7 separate regions of the Homo sapiens genome follow, and regions 1, 2, 4, 5, 6 and 7 are each linked to region 3. The links are contacts of gene promoters, found by promoter capture Hi-C in blood cells and fetal thymus (Javierre and others, 2016). All regions are on one chromosome and are shown on one strand. The core of a region is centred on a gene start or on the middle of the fragment in contact, and the rest is flanking DNA. Distances in the headings are between cores, read along the strand shown.

Region 1 (2,700 bases), core at 79-2,578, 940 kb after region 3:
TTCACGTTCAAGTGCCGCCTGTGCATGATGGGCTTCCGGCGGCGCGGCATGCTGGTCAGTGCCCAGTGGCTGCGGGTTCCTCTGTCTTCCCAGCATACCTCATTGCTGTCGATGATGGTGACGTTTGTGTTGCATTGTGTCCTAAGTTATATCGATCAATGGTTTTGTCAATGTCCAGGGGAAGAAACAGAGGCAAACGATTCCCAATTTGGAGTTCTGTCTTTTCTAGTCTCCCTTTGCTCTCTCTTGCTGCTTTTTGGATCAATTCTTGTAAGAGGTCTTTTTCTTTTTCTTTTTTTTTTTTTAATCACTTTTCATTACTACTTTTGTTTTTCTTTACCCATCTCAATCTCTGCTCTCACCTTATTTTAGTTCCCTCTTTTGTGTCCCTGAATGTATTTTTTTAATGGGGTATTTGCCTTCTCCCCAGCTGTTCCCTTTTATTTTATTTATTTATTTTTGAGACAGAATTTCGCTCCTGTTGCCCAGGCTGGAGTGAAATGGCGTGATCTCAGCTCACTGCAACCTCCCCCTCCCAGGTTCAAGCGATTCTCCTGCTTCAGCCTCCTGAGTAGCTGGGATTACAGGTGCCCACCACCATGCCTGGCTAATTTTTGTATTTTTAGTAGACACGGGGTTTCACCATTTTGGCAAGGCTGGTCTCAAACTCCTGACCTCAGGTGATCCACCTGCCTCAGCCTCCCAGAATGCTGGGATTACAGGCGTGAGCCACTGCACCCAGCCCCCAGCTGTTTCCTTTTAATGCCTCTCTTTTCCAGATATCAAACAGCAGTAGAAGGAAGCTTTCCGTCAAAGCAGGGTATGTGCATCCAGGTTAGCTGAAGCATCAGACAGCCAGTGCTCTGCTCTCAACTCATTTTGACCTTGTTACGGGTGCAGAATATATTTCTGCCAGGTGCTGGAAAGTCATAGAGCAATATTTAAAATTCAGAACCTTAGTCTGTATCTCATTCCATGTTCTTAGTAAGACTAGGGCATTAAATAATGAAAGACAGGTTTGCATGAGGAGAACTCACCAAAGAAATTCATACCAGTGTAATTTTCCTTTTTCCAATAGTAGTTCTTTCAGCCAAAGACTGTTGATGGCTGAATTCACCACAGTGAGTCACCTTCAATTGTTTGGTGAATTATTGTTAACTCCTGTTAACCATGACTGTGAGTGCTTTGGCATCAGATGGGGTCTGGTGATCCTGGTTCTGGCCAAATGCCTTATTATTTGGGGGCATTGCTTCAGAGAATTCCAGCTTCTGGCGGTCATTATCAGAGGCATTCGTGTAGCTTCTGTTTGGTTAATGGGGTCTCTTTTTCTCATTGGTTCTTTCTTTTCCCTTTAGGTAAATCACTTATCGAAGAGACACCCAGACATGAAGATAGAAGAGGTGCCAGAGTTAACTCTACCCATCATAAAACCCAATCGTGATTACTTTTGTCAGTATTGCGATAAGGTAAAAGGGAAATATTCATATTGGTATGCCACTGGGGTTCCCTGCTTAGAGCTGACTTGTCCGTATTTATAAATATATACTACGATTTTTTTGTTACTCTTACCAGATGGTTACCTGTCTCTCAGTAGTCTCCATTCAGACAAGAAAGGACTAGAAATACAGCCTTATTTTAAGCCAAATTTTTTTCTTAAGAAATAGTTGACTTCATTTTTCTTACTGTCCCTTCTCTCTGTGATTTTTGTTACACAAGAAGAGGTTTATTACTAGTGCTTAGTGTATGAATTAATTTCAAATTCCTAGGCTCTAAAATGAGAGCATTTATCATGACCTATAACATATATGGTAGTTTTGGGGTTTCTATAAGGTGGAGGGGGTTGGGAAAGCTTTGTGGTGGAGTACTCTACTTGTACTATTGCATTATTTTCATGTAGTTACAGAAAAGACACAGAATATATATTTATTATTCCACTGTAATATCCTTTCTTACTTTTTGAGATGGAGTCTTGCTCTGTTACACAGGCTGGAGTGCAGTGGCATGATCTCAGCTCACTGCAACTTCCGCCTGGGTTCAAGCGATTCTCCTGCCTCTGCCTCTGGAGTAGCTGGGATTACAGGCGCCAGCCCCCACGCCCAACTAATTTTTGTATTTTTAGTAGAGACAGGGTTTCACCATGTTGGCCAGGATGATCCACCCTCAGGTGATCGCCCGCCTCGGCCTCCCAAAGTGCTGGGATTATAGGCATGAGCCACCACACCCAGCCATCCTTTCCTTATATAATGTAGCTATATCAGCTTAAAAGTGAGAAACATTTTTTAACATAGATTCCCCACTATAGATAGCAGTTGCTATTGACGTTGCCATTTGGAAGATTCTCTGGCTCCTGGTCTTCAGCTGCGTACATCATATGAGAGCTTTCACAGGCAGCTCTCATATGAGGTGGATGGGCCTTAAAAACAATTATCTTCCTCTGTCTGTGTATCATATCCAAATTTTAAACTTTAGGATAAAGGGTATTTTCACAGTTATTATCTTAGATTTATAGATTAAAGAAAGAAACCTATCATATCTACATTATGTTCTTATTTTATTCTAATTTGTAGTATATCCTTGCTCTTCAATAGATCTGTTAATATACATATTAATATATTTTATTTGGGGCTACATGAATACTTTTCCTCATTTTCTTATAATGAAATTGTTAGTTTGCTTTAAGCAAGAAAGTGGAACTGTATA
Region 2 (2,700 bases), core at 78-2,577, 690 kb after region 3:
TTTTTTAACTGCACAAAATTCCCTGGAGGTCTTTCAAGTTGTTGCATCCATCAGCTTGTTCCTTTTCAGTGCTGAGTCATATTTCATGGCATGGAGGTGCCACAGTCTGTTTCTGACTTGGTGGACCCAGGGATCTGCAGAAGCTAGTGGGAAAAACCCAAGCCTGCCTGCAGCCTCTAGAACTGGGTAAGTTCTAAAACACGCTTCCATGGCTACAAATCTGAGCACCTGTTTTGGGGAAAGGACCAACTATGCAAACAGAGGGGCCCCACCCCCAGGGGAGGGCACCAGGAAGTCTGTGTCCTCTATTAGAACCAGACTCTATCCTGGGGGAATAGGATACAAGCGAGGGGAGAACTGCTGGATCTACCCTTGAAATTGGATTCTCAGAGCCGAGACAGATTCTGCAGGGCATGTCACCCACCTCTCATCCTCGCGAGACCATCCTTTTGGAAGAAATAGCATTTTCCTTAGTACGAGTATTAGGAAGCTCTTCCTTCCACCAAGTGTGATCAGCACTGCAATCACCTCTGCACTAATTAGCACTGCAACAGAACCAGCCTAGTTTCCCCACTCAGGAGACGCTCCAGTGGAAGCTCTACATCGGTGCTCGTGTGCTCTCTCAGTCTGCACCTCCTCTGGCTAAACATGCTCAACTCCTCTGATCATTCAAACAAAATGTTTTCTAAACCCTGGCCATCTGGTTCCATCTCACCCTTAGTCATCTTCCCTTGAAGACACCGTTTCCAGAATTCACCAGCATAACCCACAAGAGGTCTGACTAGCGTGGCCTCCACAGGGTCTGCTTGCCAATTACCTTCCTCATTCTGTTTGCTCTTTTTCTATTAATTGTCCAATGATGCATTCAAGTAACACACCCAAACAATAAAACGATTAAAATAAGAAGATGGAAAGAATGATATGTTCCCTCGATGAAAGCTTATAAGGCAATCAAAAATCGTTTTTCAAAAAGTAGATAATGACATGGAAAAGCTATCTAAGATAGAATGTTAAATGAAAAAAATAGGCTGGGCACGGTGGCTCATGCCTGCAATCCCAGCACTTTGGGAGTTCAAGGCAGGTAGACCACTCGAGGCCAGGATTCAAGACCAGCCTGGCCCATATGGTGAAACCGCCATCTCTACTAAAAATACAAAAATTAGCCTGGCGCAGTGGCGCACACCTGTAATTCCAGCTGCTTGGAAGGCTGAGGCAGGAGAATTGCTCAAACCCGGGAGGCAGAGGTTGCAGTGAGCCGAGATCGCGCCACTGCACTCCAGCCTAGGCGACAGAGCAAGACCCTATCTCAGAAAAAAAAAAAATAGTCACTCCTGCCCTTCGAAATTCAGCTCAGGCATCTCCTTGGAGTAATTCTGGGAGATCCCTCTCCAACACCTCCCTCCCAGACTCCTGTGATAGGGGAGGGAAGGGGGTCTGTCTTGCTCCACAAATCTAGCATGAGGTATGATATCTAATAAATGTTTGATAAGTTCATTAATAAAATCATATCTTTACTGCAGAGTGGAATTAGTGATGATTCCATTTGGAGGAGAATAGGTGTGCACACAAACAGCAGAACACACACACAAGACTTGTGGGAGAATATAAACAAAACTATTTATAGAGGCTCTAAAATCTGGGAGAGGGAATTTCAGAAGTTTCACATTTTACACTGTACATTTCTATATTGTGTGACTTCAAAAAGAAAAGCTTCCTAAATGTGGTAATGAGGAAAAAAATTTTTTTAGAAAACATGCATAGGCAATACCAAATTGTTAAAATGTCTTTGTAGGGGTATTTGTGTCATTTTTATTAAAAAAAATTTTTTTTGAGACAGAGTCTCGCTCTGTCACCCAGGCTGGAGTGCAATGGCACGATCTCGGCTCACTGCAACCTCCACCTCCCAGGTTCAAGTGATTCTCCTCTCTCAGTCTCCTGAGTAGCTAGGATTACAGGTGCCCACCGCCATGCCTGGCTAATTTTTGGATTTTTAGTGGAGATGGGGTTTCACCATGTTGGCCAGGCTAGTCTTGAACTCCTGACCTCAAGTGATCCATCGGCCCTGGCCTCTCAAAGTGCTGGGATTACAGGCATGAACCACCGCACCCGGCCTCATTTTTAAATTCTTACTACTTATCTGAGTTGGCTAAGTTTTCTTTAAATATGTATATATTAGACTTTTAATAATAACTTTAAAAGGTATAACCAAATAAAAACATAGGGGGAAGAAAGCACACTTCGACTTTGGGCAGTCACACTTCCATGCCTGATCTCTCCTGGGCTCACTGTCAACTCAGAACTCTGGGTCTCGTGGTTTCTGCTCCATGGTTGAGGGAGGTGGTTCAGTGAGCAAAGCACTGACTCCTGACCCAGACGGATGCATTCTGCTCAGCGCAGCCTATCAGACAGTCTGTCCAGATGCTCTGACTCATAATCAAGTCATACAAGGTATCAGCCTTTCCCTCCCAGCTGGTGTCATCTGTGGAGCTGGTAGGCAAATGCCCCAAGTCCTCATCTGAGCTGTTACTAAATAAGAAATGGCACAGAACCCAGGAAGGGGTGACGAGCAGCCTGAGGTCACCACCCAAAGTGACGTGGATTCAAGAACAGACCCCCCCTTAGGCACAGCCTTTCAATCAGACACAAGCCTACCAGAACTTCGATCCTCCAACACCCAGGGCTCCACACCCAGCAGACAGG
Region 3 (2,700 bases), core at 7-2,506:
GCCAATAGCATAAAATTTCACTCCTTCACACTCCTAAGTGTTTTTCGAGGCACTGCGGAAAAGGAAGCATCTATCGTGGTTGGTCCAGCATCCCTTCAGTAGCTTAGATCTGCAGAAATACTGTTGGAACATCGTTTCTTTATTCTTCCCATCCTTTGTGTGTTAGGCCAAACCCTGAGGACTGTCTGCCTTGGAATAGAGAGGAAATCCAAGCATATGTGCAAAGTTGAGCTGCACTTTCAGCCCCAGGTCTTCAATGGGCCTTCTCCACAGGCACCTGTGAAATGCCAGCAGGGTCGTTGCATGTAGAGGGATCCCACTCAGTGCACCCCTGGGAATGGCTCAGCCGCACTGTGGGTGTAAGCATTAATCACACAACAGCCATTCTACATATTCCTTTTTTATTCTCCAGAGAGTGCCAGGAAAAGTCCTGCCCAGTCAAAAGTCTTCTCTTGCAGCTGGGTGTTGAGGGTGATTGCCCCTCTCTCTCCTTGTAAGATTATGTTTGACAGCAGTGAAAACCAACAGTTTAACAGCAGTAATCTCTTGGCAGGACAGATTGATATGAGCCTTGTCCCAAAACAAAGTAATCCTTTCAGGGAAGTGTATTTCAAGTTGAGCTCACGTTCCCAAGATGCTGAGATTCTTATGTAGCTGACACCGGAGCTGAGGCTGAGCCCCAGCCAGGGATATCCAACGATTGCCAGTAACACCACGGAACTGAGTGAAGATTCAGGGGCTGAGTGTGTTCCTGAGTGCTTCAAACCGGGGGACCTGGAAACCAGAGGACTCCTGGGGAAAGGCTGTCAACTCCAGCCTGCTCTTCCTAAATGGCCTTGTTAGTAGTGACTTCAGCCCTGGCGGTGAGGCATGTGGGTCAGAATAACATTCCCTTTCTTTTCCCTTCACCTCTTTTTTCTCCACGGTTCCTTTTCATAACTTCTTTATTTGCTGCCTAGAGGAGCTTTCTGGACATTTTGTCTCCAGGGAGCGTGACATGTCACCTGTTTCTCACCTCATATGCCTCTGATCTTCTACACCAAGGTAGCTATAAAGGCTTGCTTTCTAGGCTGGGTTTCCCTGCACAGGCCCACTGAACCACTCAAACCTCAGAGGTGGAAGTGCCCAGCGGGCCTCATGGTCAGCTGGGGATAACGGAGTCATTTTCGCAGCCCAACTTCTGAAATTCCACAAGAGGGCGCCCAAGGTCTCCCAAGTCCGGCCACGCCCGGTGGCCTTGAGGCCGGAAGGTGGCGCTGTTGCTTTAGCCATCAAGAAAGGCAAGGCTGGGGACGCCGCATCCCCGGGTGCGGAGGGCGATGCCTAGGGGCGATGCTGTGCCTGTGGCGGCCAAACAGTGCCACCCACTCCGGGAAACAAAGCCAAGCGCCGGACGCTAGGTATGGGAGAGAAGAGCCACCCTGACCCAAGGGAGGGCTCTAGGTGAGGAGCCAGCGTCCTCCGGCTCCGGTTCCCGCTGCACTGCTGCTTTGCCAGGAGGCCTTGAAGAAAGTCATTCATTCTTTCTCCCCCACAGCTTCCTAGGTCTTCCACGTGTTCAACGGAAATTCACAAATTCTCTAGTAGCAGGTAAGCTTCGGATTCAGGAATGAAAAAGACAAAGCCCTGTCCTGGGTGAATTCATTATCCATGGACAGGGGAGGCAGGCGCATCATCGGAAAGTCACCGTGTGAGGAGGGACGTGGAGGCACAGAGGTGCACACGGAAGCCCCCAGAAGAAGGACTTCCCCCAGCCTGGGGAAGCTGGGCGGGCAGGGGTGGGCCAGCGAAGCCTTCCCGGTGATTCTAGGCAGTCTTAAAAGGTGTTAGGAGTCAACTTGGGAAAGATTAGGAAAAGGCAGTGTAGGCCAAGGGACGGCCGGAGCAGAGGCCGCGCGGCAGTGCTGGCATGTGGGTGGGCGGTGGTAAGGAAGGCGGTGGATGAGGATGCAGGGAGCAGATGGGCTGCGTTGCAGGCTGGGCCCCTATGGCCCTCAATAGGTTTTGTGGTCAACATGCTTTGTGGAGTTACAACAAGCAATGGTGGCCCTAACACATATATTCATTTATAGGTCCATAAATCTGCATTCATAGAGATAAATGAGTAATCCCCAGGGTGAAGGAGAACTGGAAGAGACACTGGAGCCAGGTCCACCCTTGGCCAGGTTTTACCTTGACTTGGCGTCATCACTAGGCACTGGTTTTTTTCTCTCTCCTTCTTCCCTGACCAAGAAATACAACAAATTCGTTATGATATCGACTTGTCATGATCCGAAATTGAAGAGCAACCATATATTTATTTGGCAAGATAAATACACACATTCTTTACATAAGATTAGTAGCCACCAGTTTCTAAAAGCATATATTGTCATTTATTTGCCAAAACAAAGGTACATGCCCACATGTTATAGATGGGAAAGATGAGGCCCAGAGCTCGGGTGCATGGCTGAGGTCACCCAATTAGTGGATGGTGGTGCTGGCACTTCTGTCTGGGCTGCTTCACCTTGTCACACACTCTCCACTCCATGCAGGCCGCACCTCTCTAGCAGGGTTTATCACCCAGCTTAGTATCACTAGTACCCAGCACACTCACTCTGTGAAAGACACTGCACTGTGATCTGTAGGGTCTAAAGCTAGGGGTCCATGTCACATACAGAATGGCACTTTTCACAGAAAGAGAGGACAGATGCTGCATGGCTG
Region 4 (2,700 bases), core at 109-2,608, 670 kb after region 3:
AGACCTTCATTCAAGTAAGTCCCTCCCCCACACAATCACTGATGGAAGGCGCTAGTGATAAACAGTTCACCTTTGTCACAATCACTGATGGAAGGCGCTAGTGATAAACAGTTCACCTTTGTCACAATCACTGATGGAAGGCGCTAGTGATAAACAGTTCACCTTTGTCACAATCACTGATGGAAGGCGCTAGTGATAAACAGTTCACCTTTGTCACAATCAAAGAGCAACACCCAGCCGGGCGCAGTGGCTCACGCCTATAAACCCAGCACTTTGGGAGGCCAAGGCGGGTGAATCACCTGAGGTCAGGAGTTCGAGACCGGCCTGGCCAACATGGTGAAATCCCATCTCTACTAAAGATACAAAAATTAGCTGGGCATCACGGTGCACGCCTGTAATCCCAGCTACTCCAGAGGCTGAGGCAGGAGAATCACCGGAACCCGGGAGGCGGAGGTTGCAGTGAGCCGAGATCGCACCACCGCACTCCAGCCTGGGCGACACAGCGAGACTGTCAGAAAAAAAAAAAAAGAGCAACACCCTAGACACAATACATGCCCACAACAGAGGATTTATTAAATAAACTGTGGGCTCAATCAGAACAACAGCAGTAGTAACAATCAACATTTATTAAGAACATGCCAAGGTCGGGCCTATAATCCCAGCCTGTTGGGAGGTCAAGGCAGGAGAATTGCTTGAGGCCAGGAGTTTCAGACCAGCCTGGGTAACGCCTCATCTCCATAATCAAAAAAACTAGCTGGGCATGGTGGCGCTTGCCTGCAGTCCCAGCTACTCCGGGGCAAGGCCAGAGAACTGCTTGAGCCTCAGGAGTTCAAGGTTACAGTGAGCTATGATTGCGCCACTGCACTCCAGCCTGGGTGACAAGGAGACTCAAAAAAAAAAACATGCCTGGCATGGTTCTCGGTGCTTTTAAATCTATTAACTCATAATCTTCCTAACAGCTCTATGAAGTAGATACTATTACCCCTATCTCAGAGGTGAGGAAACTGAGACACAGAGATGTTCAGTAACTTGCCCAACATCTCATGGTTAATAAGTGGCAGGCTTAGAATTTAAACTCAGGCATTCAAGCTCCAGAGTCCACACTGCTCACAACCATGTCATCCTGATTGTGTCCCCTCCTTCTAAACAATGCAACCTTATAAAAACCCTGAGAGAGAGGGTGACTGATTTGGAAAGACCATCATAATATACTTCATTTGTTAAAGCAGGTAATGAGACTGAATGCACGGGATAATCCTATTTCTTAACACACACACAGCAAAAAAGGCTGGGAAAATAGACATCAAAAATTTGGCCGGGTGCTGTGGCTCACGCCTGTAATCCCAGTACTTTGGGAGGCCAAGGCAGGCAGATTGCCTGAGGTCAGGAGTTCGAGACCAGCCTGACCAACATGGTAAAACCCCATCTCTACTAAAAATACAAAAAAAATTAGCTGAGTGTTGTGGCGCATGCCTGTAATCCCAGCTGCTCGAGAGGATGAAGCAGGAGAATCGCATGAACCCAGGAGGCGGAGGTTGCGGTGAGCCGAGATCTTGCCACTGCACTCCAGCCTGGGCGACAGAGCGAGATTCCATCTCAAAGAAAAAGAATTAACAGTGGTTATTTCTAGACAGTAAGATGACGAGTGACTTTAGTCTTCCTTTTGCTTGCCGATTTCCTTCTCCCACTGGGAACATGTACTTCTTTGTTGTACAATTAATAAATTAGAGAGATGGAAAAGAAGTCCTGGTTACGAAGCTGTGGCGGCAGATGGTTCTAGGTTGTTCTTGGCCTGAATTTTAGCCCATTATTAATCAGGAAACGTCCGCCGAGCTCATTTCCCTAGACAGCCACGGAAGGCTCTGGCCCAGCGAGTGCAGGAGAGGCGGCTCACCCACCACGCACAGCACCTCTGCGAGGTACGCCCCACCCTGACGTGGGGTATCCCACAGGTGCATTAACCACGCCTTTCCGTTTTCTGTAATGCAGGTGCTTTGACATCTGAGGCCCTGCTGACTGTGGAAGGCTGGCCAATGCTTAGAGATAGGAAAGGACTCACCTGCAAGCAAACCTTCCCTATGCAAACCCACCTATGGGGGCCCAGCCCCACCTCCTCCGAAAGGATCTCACACTCAGGGCCACTATTCTTTGCCCTAACCACCCCAGGCCCAAGTATCAGAGAACTAGGGACAGCTCCTATGCCCCGGAGCCTACTGAAATTATTCAAACAAGCCAGTTCTAAACCTCTCACCCTGATTTGTCTTGCCTTTTCTGTGTAAACCATATAAAGGCTCTTTTTTTTTTTTTTTTTTTTTGAGACAGAGTCTCGCTCTGTTGCCCAGGCTGGAGTGTAGTGGTACGATCTCGGCTCACTGCAACCTCTGCCTCCCAGGTTCAAGTGATTCTCCCGCCTTGGCCTCCCGAGTAGCTGGGATTACAGGCGCCCGCCACCACACCCAGCTGATTTTTGTATTTTTAGTAGAGACAGGGTTTCACCAGGTTGGCTTGACTGGTCTCAAACTCCTGACCGCAAGTGATCCAGCCGCCTTGGCCTCCCAAAGTGCTGGGCTTACAGGCGTGAGCCACCATGCCCGGCCCATAAAAGGCTCTTGCTTACATTTTCCCCTCATTCCTGTTACCCCTTGACCAACCTGGTGTTTCCTCATGTGGCCTGAGGCAGGTTCTTTCTCTGTTGCCCAG
Region 5 (2,700 bases), core at 38-2,537, 930 kb after region 3:
CTGTTACTCAGGAAATTCCAGTGACTTAAAGGTTACCAACTAGGGACAAAGACCAGGAAGATTCCTTATTACATGATGAGATTGTTTCTAGTTTTTGGCTATTTTGAAGAGTGCTGCTGTGAGCATTCTTATATGTCTTTTAGTGAACATATGTGCACATTTCTGTTGGGTATGTATGTAGGAGTGGAGTTGCTGGGTCATGGATATGCCTATATTCAACTTAGGGGATGCTTCTGAACATTTTGCTAAACTAATTATACTGGGCATTGACTTTTAAGTTATTTGTGCTAAAATATACCCTCAGATTAGGAAACCTGGGTCTGAATCGCTAGGTTATCTGAACACAGATCTTTGTAACATCTTATGTGTTTTCGGTGTGGTGAAGTTGTGTGTGTGTTTTGAGGACTGTGAGAGGGTGATGTGAGGGTACTTGTTCCTTTGATGTCTTGTATGGATGCATTAGAAAATAAGATCCTAAAAAGCAACTCTCTGCCAAATTTTAGCTTTTGATTTGATAGAACAGTAATGCAAATAGCAGATACTATATAGTTATGAACTCTTTGGGCTGCAGCAAGATAAGAATGGTGGGGATCGCAGACTTTTGAGTTTTACTGGTGTCTATTGGTCATCAGCCTTTATGATTTCTCTCCTGTGACTGTAGTTCTTCGAGAGCAAGAGAAGAATTGGCCCTGCTATGAATGTAACCGCCGATTTATAAGCTCGGAGCAGTTGCAACAGCATCTCAATTCTCATGATGAGAAACTAGATGTGTTTAGCAGGTATGTATGAGGGAGAAATGCTCACAGACTGAGTTCATAAAGGTTCAGAATCATTTCTATATTGTCCACTAGCTAATGAGTGTCTCCGAGTGTCATGTATAGATAGGTAACCAGGTGGGCTACTGAGGGAACGGTGTTACCTGTCATCTCCTTTTCCCTCTGCTCCTCATTTACTATTATCCATCTTTTCCAGCATAACCAATACCCAGCAATGGGAGATGCTTTCACCTTAGGTAAATCTCCCTTAATTGGAGATTCCGAAATAGGAATTTTTGAGATAGGACATACCTTTAAAATAATCTGCATCTCTGATTTTCAGACTTTTTTCAGCAGTACAATTACTTAATCAAACCAAGTCATATGTTTAATTCCACTATATAAAAAAGACAGATGAGGGGAGAATCATATGGGATGAAGTGGGCAGGGGCCAGATCAGGTAGGGCCTTATGGGAAATGGTAAGAAATTTAGATTTTATTCCAAGTGTGATGAGAAGTCTTTAGAGGGTTTTGGTCGGGGAGTATTGTGATGTTGATTGTATTTTTTTTTTGAAAACCATTTTGGATAAAAATAACACCTGGAAAAAAATAATCACTAGCTTATATTAGAGTAAGAGTGAAGACAAGGAGTCCTGTTAGCATCTATCACAATAGTTTGGGGGAGGAATGAGGGTGGTTTGGAGTAGGCTCATGCCAGGGGGACAGATGTAGGGTTGCCAGCTTTTCTAGGGTTTGGAAAGAGAGGAGATGTGTGAGATGGTAGTTGGGTAAGTGGGAAAGCGAATGTTCTAGGGAAGTACCATACAATTGCCCACTCTATTAAATGCCCACTTGGGGTTCATGGTTATGAAATGAAAGTGAGCCCACTAGCATGGCTGTGCGTTTTCTCCAGCTTCATTCAGCTGCAGGGATGCTGGTGCAGAGCAGGCAGGGAATTGAATTACACAGGGTTGTGGCTTTGCCAAGTGCTCATAACACACATTGAGAAAACAGAGCAGCCATGGGATGGGAACTGAGAGCACGCACGAGGGAGTGGTTCCAGTGGATGACCTTGGAGCGTATGCTGTGGAAGAAGGGGAGAGAACATCAAGGCAGTGATGCAGAGCTGCACGAAAGCACCGGAAGGATTGAACTGGAGATGCTCGCGTGGCTGAAGGGTTGCTGAGTGCTGGGTACTAGAGGGAGTAAACTACAGAGCCAGGGTAGTGTCCGAGTGGGCAGTGCATGGGATTGGCATGAAGAGGCTTACAAGGGTGACAGGGTCTAGAATGTGACCACAGGGGTAAATGTCTAAGGAGGGGGTGGACACAGTGAGATTTGAGTCACTCCTGGGAATCTCCAAAACTCTGTTCATGGCTCTATTGTAGCATTTTTTATATTATATTGTGATTTTTGGTTTATATGCCAGCTCCCTTTTCTAGACCCCTGAGGGTAAAATCTGTTGCCTGTAATCTGATGTCCTTAGTGCCTAGCCCAGTATGTGATACACAGTAGGTAATATGTTTGTTAGCCAACTGTTAAGAGAAACCTGGGACAACTAGGAAGATTTGAACTTTGACTAGATATAATAATACTCAGCAACTCTCAGATATTTCTCAGGTGTGATAATGGTATTGTGGTCATATATATATAAAGAGTTCTTATGATTCAGAGAGACATGCCAAGATATCTAGAGATGAAAAGATATCTGGGATTTGCTTCCAAGTCATCTACTGGGTATGTGTGTGGGCAAGTGGTGGGGATATAGATGGAAAATGTTGGCCATGGTTTGAAAAATGTTGGAATTGGGTTATGGGTACATTGGGCTCATCGTGCTAGTCTCTACATTCACCTAGGTTCAGAATTTTCCAACATGAAGAGTCTTTTAAAAGTTCCTGGAAAAAATATATAGTATTTGTTAAATTATTAAATGGATGAGTGGAAG
Region 6 (2,700 bases), core at 94-2,593, 960 kb after region 3:
ACTGGACTTCTTATTCCAAGCCATGGCACCAAAGGAGAAGGGGCATTTTGTGGGTGTGCATTAGGTCTGAACTGCTTTATCTTGTTTTAGTTTTCAGTAATTTAACAAAGGGAGCCTGCTGAATAACAAAATTAAAATGATGAAACAAAAGTTTGACAGTGATATTCTGAAGCAAAAACTGTCATCTAAATTTTTCTTGCTGATTTTTTTTAACTTCCCTATTTTAGAAAACTATTGTTGGGCTGTTGGTAGTGCTTTCCACAGATGCTGGTCCTCAGTGGATTAGGTCAGAAGCTCATGTTCTGATAGTTCTTCATTATTTCACAAAGGTGGACAACCTGAAAGAGAAAAGGCTGCTTGATGTCAGCAGAATCTAAACCCCTACATTAAAGCTTTGCCTCCCATTCTGTGGTTGTGGTGGTGGTAAGAAGGAGATATTGGTACCAAGAAAAATTTCCAAAACTATTGAGAGAGAGAGAGAGAAAGTATTGAAATTTTGTTCTGCCTTGCAGGATCCATTTATCATTCATTGGTAAAGGATATATTCCTTGTTCTTACCAAGTGTACATTTAACTCTTGCTGACATGTTCAGTGTATTTTATTACTTTTAATGCTGTCTTAAAATGAACATTCTTTAAAGTTGGACAGGAAGGTGGCATTTCTTATTTATTAACATTTTTAACTTTAAACATATTGTGACTCATCTAGACCTTTTAATAAGACGGTCAACTTCACACTTAGGGAAAAAATTAAAATGTGATGGCCACTTCTAATAATTCAGGTAGTTATAAGGGATCTGGAAGAAATCCAGTCTTTATGAATATACTATTAGTTGGGCATTAAAAAATCAGTATATATTTTAACTTTTTGTGACATGCTAACACATTTTCAGAATAATTATTGCATAGTAGAATTTATTACTCCAGAACAGAAAGACCTTACTTCATTTCAAATGAAGTTAATTAATTTACATTTCTGGGTAAAAACTGGTTCTATAAATTAAGTAGAGTAGCTTCTTTATGATAAAGACAATTTTCTGAAAAGTGAACAATTCTGTTAAAAGAACTTTATTGATGTGTAGATTTCGCACTTTATTTCTGAGACTGCGTTCATGTAGTTGTTCCCCAATGTTTGAGTACTAAGAGAACTTGAGAAAATTACTTCATAAACATATGGAAACTGAAAATGGACTCTCTTTGTGACAAAGATATTCAACAGAAAATATTGACCCTGCATTGCAAAACACAGGTTCGGGTTCCCTAAGTCCCACAGTGTAATGATTACAAATATCCTAGTGTCCGGTCTAGAAAGACTTTCTAGGAGAAGACTAGTGGAATTTTCTAAAGGTTCAGTTTTAGCTTTTATAACTTAAATTTGGCCCTGTTACGTTCTTTTTAATTTGAACCATAAGGTATCTCCCCTCCCTTCAGGAATAACTTATTGGAAAACTGAAAAGAATCACTGAATGGAATGTTCATTTTATGGCAGTTGTTTTAAGTTTTAAAATACACAGAGGAAAATATTGTGGAAGGACCTCTTTGTTGCTTTCCCTTCTAAGTTGTCTTCTTCTTCTTCTTCTTCTTCTTCTTCTTTGGTCCTTAAGTGAAATAAAGACTCTAAAACTAATTTGTATATTATCAGCCAGAGATGCGGATGGCAGTCGAGCCAAATCGCATGGCTTTCAGATCAGGTATTCTGCACATTCATTCCAAGGTCATAGATTTTTAAAAGGACCTGGATTTGAAGAGATGGCAAATGATGAGCCATCAGAAAACTTAATTTGGAAAACATGTATGTAGCCAGTGTGGATATTGTGGCCTCTCTCAAGACACATTGACACTGTAGACTTCATTCAGTCCAGTGTGAGTATTTTGGAGTAGGTTGGATGTAGATTTTGTTTTTATCATTGATTTGTACCGACAGAAATAGACATTTCATCATGTAAAATTCCTGTTATTCTGGAAAAACCTATTGTTTTGATCTTCTTGTTTTCTGACTTGGAAGTATCCTTTCAAAAAAACTCTTAAGATATCTAGGTCTAAAAAGCACTTCATGAGATGCTAAAGCTGACCCACTGGTTGAAAATGTTGACCCTATCCTGTTATTTAAATGTGAACATTTATTGTACATTCAGTGAGTTATAGTGTTAATAGTCTTGTGCTATGCAGCAGGTGTAAAAATTAATAAATATATTTTTTAATAAACATGTTTGTATGTGTGAAGCTACAAGAGCTATTTTTTTTTCTTTGAAGAATTGCAACTTTTGGTTTCCAGCGTGGCATACAGGAAGCTTGGAAGTTGTCCCTCCATCCTAGCAATAAGTAAGAAGCTGAGCAAATGGAAAGATCAACATCTCTCCTTAGATCCATCAGAAAGTTGAGCCCACAGGACAAACTGCTGTCCCCAAAATTGGAAAGACAAACAGGCAAATACAGAGAATCATAGCTTATTGAACAGAAACCCGTGAGAAAAAAATCCACGATCAATAACCTCTATGAGAACCAGCGCCAGGGTAGGAAAACTTGAACTATATTTGATGAATTGCTGCAGGCTCAGCGTGGAGAAATCTGAGAGGTTAAAAACTCCAGGGAACTCAGTCACTGGAGGGGGGGTCAAGGGAGACCCACACTTTTGTGAGTTTTATCCCCAGGAGCTTGACTAGGTTCTCACAGTGAAATTTGGAGAAAAATTCCCTCATGC
Region 7 (2,700 bases), core at 55-2,554, 710 kb after region 3:
TTGTTTTTGTATTATTATGAACTCTTGGTATCAAACATATTTGATATGTCTGGGTTCATTGCTGTTTTTATTCTTACTGATGTTCAAAGTGTACCCTCTTTGGCCATTGGGACCTTCTTTAAGTCAGCTCTGAGTCCTTTTGACCCAATTCTTGTCATCTTTGATTTTTTGTTTATTTTCTGGTATGATGTTGCAGTTTCAACTTGTACTTTTCCTGCCCACACATGCAATCAGCTGTTTCTTTAAGACAACCTAATAGCTTTTAGTGAAAAGTGATCCTCTAAGGGGATGTTCATTTCTAGCTGGTCTTTGTTTCTGGGGCTTTTGGTAGACAAAGCCAGAACTTTGTGAAAGAGATAAAACACCCATCATGTTCATATTGATTCTCCCAATTCTAATTTAGGACCACAGAGTACTGACTTATTCGAGCTGAGATCTGTATTTTCTTTTTCACACTGATAATTCTTGTTCTCACATCACTTTTTTTAAAAAAAACTCTGTCTCCTTTATCAAATGAAGGCAACAGGTACAACTTTCCCATTAGAGTTCAGTGAGTTGGCCCTTAGTGGAATTTTTGTCAACTTGCAGCTCACGAACAATAGAATAGCTAATTTGAGGGGAAAAAAAGGAAATTATTTTAAAATTGTTAGGCGGTTCACAGAATGTCTAGGAGGGCCAGAGAGCTGAGAGAGGAGGAAACAGAGCCAGAAACAAGGCCCCAGACACACCACAAGGCTGCAGGGACAGCCCCACTGCTCCCGCCCAAGCTGATACCATCAGAGCTCATCCCCTGAGCCCAGACCCACTCACCAGTGCCGCTGCCGTCCCAGGAGCAGGACGCTTCCACCTGCATCCCACCAGAAAGTGGGCTCACTGCAGTGCCTGCGTCCTTTCTTTGTGGCCTCTTGAGTAAGTCTCTTGTGAGTGCATCTCATTAGATCCTAAGTTACATGTCTGTGCCCTACCTACAAGGGAGCTGAGAAGGAGAGTTCTGGTTTCTGCCTGAGGTAGGCAGGACTCAAAAGATGGAAAGTCTCCAAATCTAAGAGGGTTGTTCAAGAGACACTGGAGTGTCCCTAAACTGGGTAAATGCAGATGCACGGAAATGTGAGTCGAGTCTGGGAGTGTGTTCTGGAAATGCATTTCACTGTGGGCCACTTGTTTGATGCTCTGTGTTTCTCTGACTTCCTCTGCCCTGTCCACATCATCAGCACATCCAAGTTCATCCCTCCTTCCATCTAATATGTGTAGTTCTGGCCCAGCCTGCTCCCTGGCCCAGGGTGTCGCGTGGGGTATACACAGGTTTCATTAAAATCAAAGTCCGCTGATTCCCTTGTTTACATTCTGAGCTCAGTCATCAGCTGAAAACATTTACCATCTAAGAAGTCATTCCCCAAACAGTTTCAATTATTAAGACCATGGATTTACATTTACTATTAATAGTGATATTCTTCACTGTAAATGTATGTTGGGTCTTGAGGTATTAACTAATATTATGAGGCCAATGTGATTAATGAGACTTAAACTTTAAATGCCCAGTACATGAAGACAAGCCACTACAATCTCTTCAGTGCTTAAAGTCATGCAATACTCGATTTAGTAATTTACAAAGTTTCATTAAGAAATGATAAATGCACAGCTTGAGATTTCTTCATTAAATGCTAAAAGCAAAAAGCCATAAACCATGGTGGAATCACTTTTTCTTGCCACAGGAAAAGTGGCTGAAATAATACACAGAAGGCTGGGCACAGTGGCTCACGCCTGTAATCCCAGCACTTTGGGAGGCCGAGGCAGACAGATCACGAGGTCAGGAGTTTGAGACCAGCCTGGCCAATATGGTGAAACCCCCGTCTCCACTAAAAATATAAAAATTAGCTAGGCGTGATGGTGGGTGCCTGTTGTCCCAGCTACTCGGGAGGCTGAGGCAGAAGAATTGCTTGAACCTGGGAGGCAGAGGTTGCGGTGAGCCGAGATCGCGCTACTGCACTCCAGCCTGGGCGACAGAGTGAGACTCCGTCTCAAAACAAACAAACAAAAACCACAGAAAAGGATATGGCAACACTATAGTCCATTCTTCTGTCAGTAAATACTGTTAGAAGATACACAGATTTGAAGAAACAAGTAAAAAACCACCTTTAGAGTATGGGAGGTTTGGATGAAAGCACAGATGTTTCTAATGTAGCTCCACTCATAGTGTAATATACGTAGATTTTTCTGCTCACGAAATACAAATATTTTTTTTTCTTGCCAGGAGCAATGGCTCACGCCTGTAGTCCCAGCACTTTGGGAGGTTGAGGCAAGTGGATCACTTGAGATCAGAAGTTTGAGACCAGCCTGGCCAACATGCGGAAACCCCATCTCTACCAAAAGTACAAAAATTAGCCAGGTGTGGTGGTGGGCACCTGTAGTCTCAGCCACGAGGGAGGCTGAGGCAGGAGAATCTCTTGAACCCAGGAGGCGGAGGCTGCAGTGAGCCAGCCTGGGCGACAGAGCGAGACTCCGTCACACACACACACACACACACAGCAGAAAACAAAACTAAACTAAAAGCAGCTTGATTGAGGTATAATTGACTGCACATATTGAAAGTGTCCAATCTGGTAAGTTTTGACACATATCTACACCTGTGAAATTATCACCACAATCAAGAACTCTTTCAGTTTTGATAGCCATTAAATATAGTATTGCAACAAACTGACC

Evidence for each region. Contacts are between HindIII fragments. The CHiCAGO score rates a contact against its expected background, and 5 or more counts as called.
Region 1: a contact is called between a fragment that was not itself captured here and the fragment with the promoter of LINC02551 in region 3, in 2 of 17 cell types (naive B cells and total B cells). The highest score is 8.9, in naive B cells.
Region 2: a contact is called between a fragment that was not itself captured here and the fragment with the promoter of LINC02551 in region 3, in 1 of 17 cell types (total CD8 T cells). The highest score is 6.8, in total CD8 T cells.
Region 4: a contact is called between a fragment that was not itself captured here and the fragment with the promoter of LINC02551 in region 3, in 4 of 17 cell types (total B cells, neutrophils, erythroblasts and 1 more). The highest score is 6.7, in total B cells.
Region 5: a fragment that was not itself captured here is called in contact with the fragment with the promoter of LINC02551 in region 3 in 2 of 17 cell types (total B cells and naive B cells); the score reaches 6.3 in total B cells.
Region 6: a fragment that was not itself captured here is called in contact with the fragment with the promoter of LINC02551 in region 3 in 2 of 17 cell types (total B cells and naive B cells); the score reaches 7.2 in total B cells.
Region 7: a fragment that was not itself captured here is called in contact with the fragment with the promoter of LINC02551 in region 3 in 1 of 17 cell types (naive CD8 T cells); the score reaches 5.1 in naive CD8 T cells.

What each region holds. Positions count from the first base shown.
Region 1 is chr11:129,915,893-129,918,592 of GRCh38, reverse strand. It overlaps PRDM10 (PR/SET domain 10), which reads left to right. Exons shown (of 21, transcript NM_199437.2): 14 at 1-54; 15 at 1,356-1,466. Among named protein-coding and RNA genes, the nearest start is that of NFRKB, 22 kb to the right of the region's middle. The HindIII fragment of the contact is 1,046 bases long and covers 806-1,851 here.
Region 2 is chr11:130,166,341-130,169,040 of GRCh38, reverse strand. The region is part of intron 1 of ST14 (ST14 transmembrane serine protease matriptase); the gene reads right to left. Among named protein-coding and RNA genes, the nearest start is that of ST14, 7.9 kb to the right of the region's middle. The HindIII fragment of the contact is 771 bases long and covers 942-1,712 here.
Region 3 is chr11:130,860,666-130,863,365 of GRCh38, reverse strand. It overlaps LINC02551 (long intergenic non-protein coding RNA 2551), which reads left to right and starts at 1,256. Exons shown (of 6, transcript NR_125383.1): 1 at 1,256-1,400; 2 at 1,538-1,590. RefSeq lists enhancers at 894-1,394, 1,395-1,895. The HindIII fragment of the contact is 6,813 bases long and covers 1-1,597 here.
Region 4 is chr11:130,191,305-130,194,004 of GRCh38, reverse strand. The region is part of intron 7 of ST14 (ST14 transmembrane serine protease matriptase); the gene reads right to left. Among named protein-coding and RNA genes, the nearest start is that of ST14, 33 kb to the right of the region's middle. The HindIII fragment of the contact is 2,906 bases long and covers 1-2,700 here.
Region 5 is chr11:129,933,180-129,935,879 of GRCh38, reverse strand. It overlaps PRDM10 (PR/SET domain 10), which reads left to right. Exons shown (of 21, transcript NM_199437.2): 9 at 662-779. Among named protein-coding and RNA genes, the nearest start is that of NFRKB, 39 kb to the right of the region's middle. The HindIII fragment of the contact is 2,948 bases long and covers 1-2,700 here.
Region 6 is chr11:129,899,237-129,901,936 of GRCh38, reverse strand. PRDM10 (PR/SET domain 10) reads left to right here. Exons shown (of 21, transcript NM_199437.2): 21 at 1-2,226. Among named protein-coding and RNA genes, the nearest start is that of NFRKB, 5.0 kb to the right of the region's middle. The HindIII fragment of the contact is 1,898 bases long and covers 395-2,292 here.
Region 7 is chr11:130,149,028-130,151,727 of GRCh38, reverse strand. No RefSeq gene overlaps it. Among named protein-coding and RNA genes, the nearest start is that of ST14, 9.4 kb to the left of the region's middle. The HindIII fragment of the contact is 3,598 bases long and covers 1-2,700 here.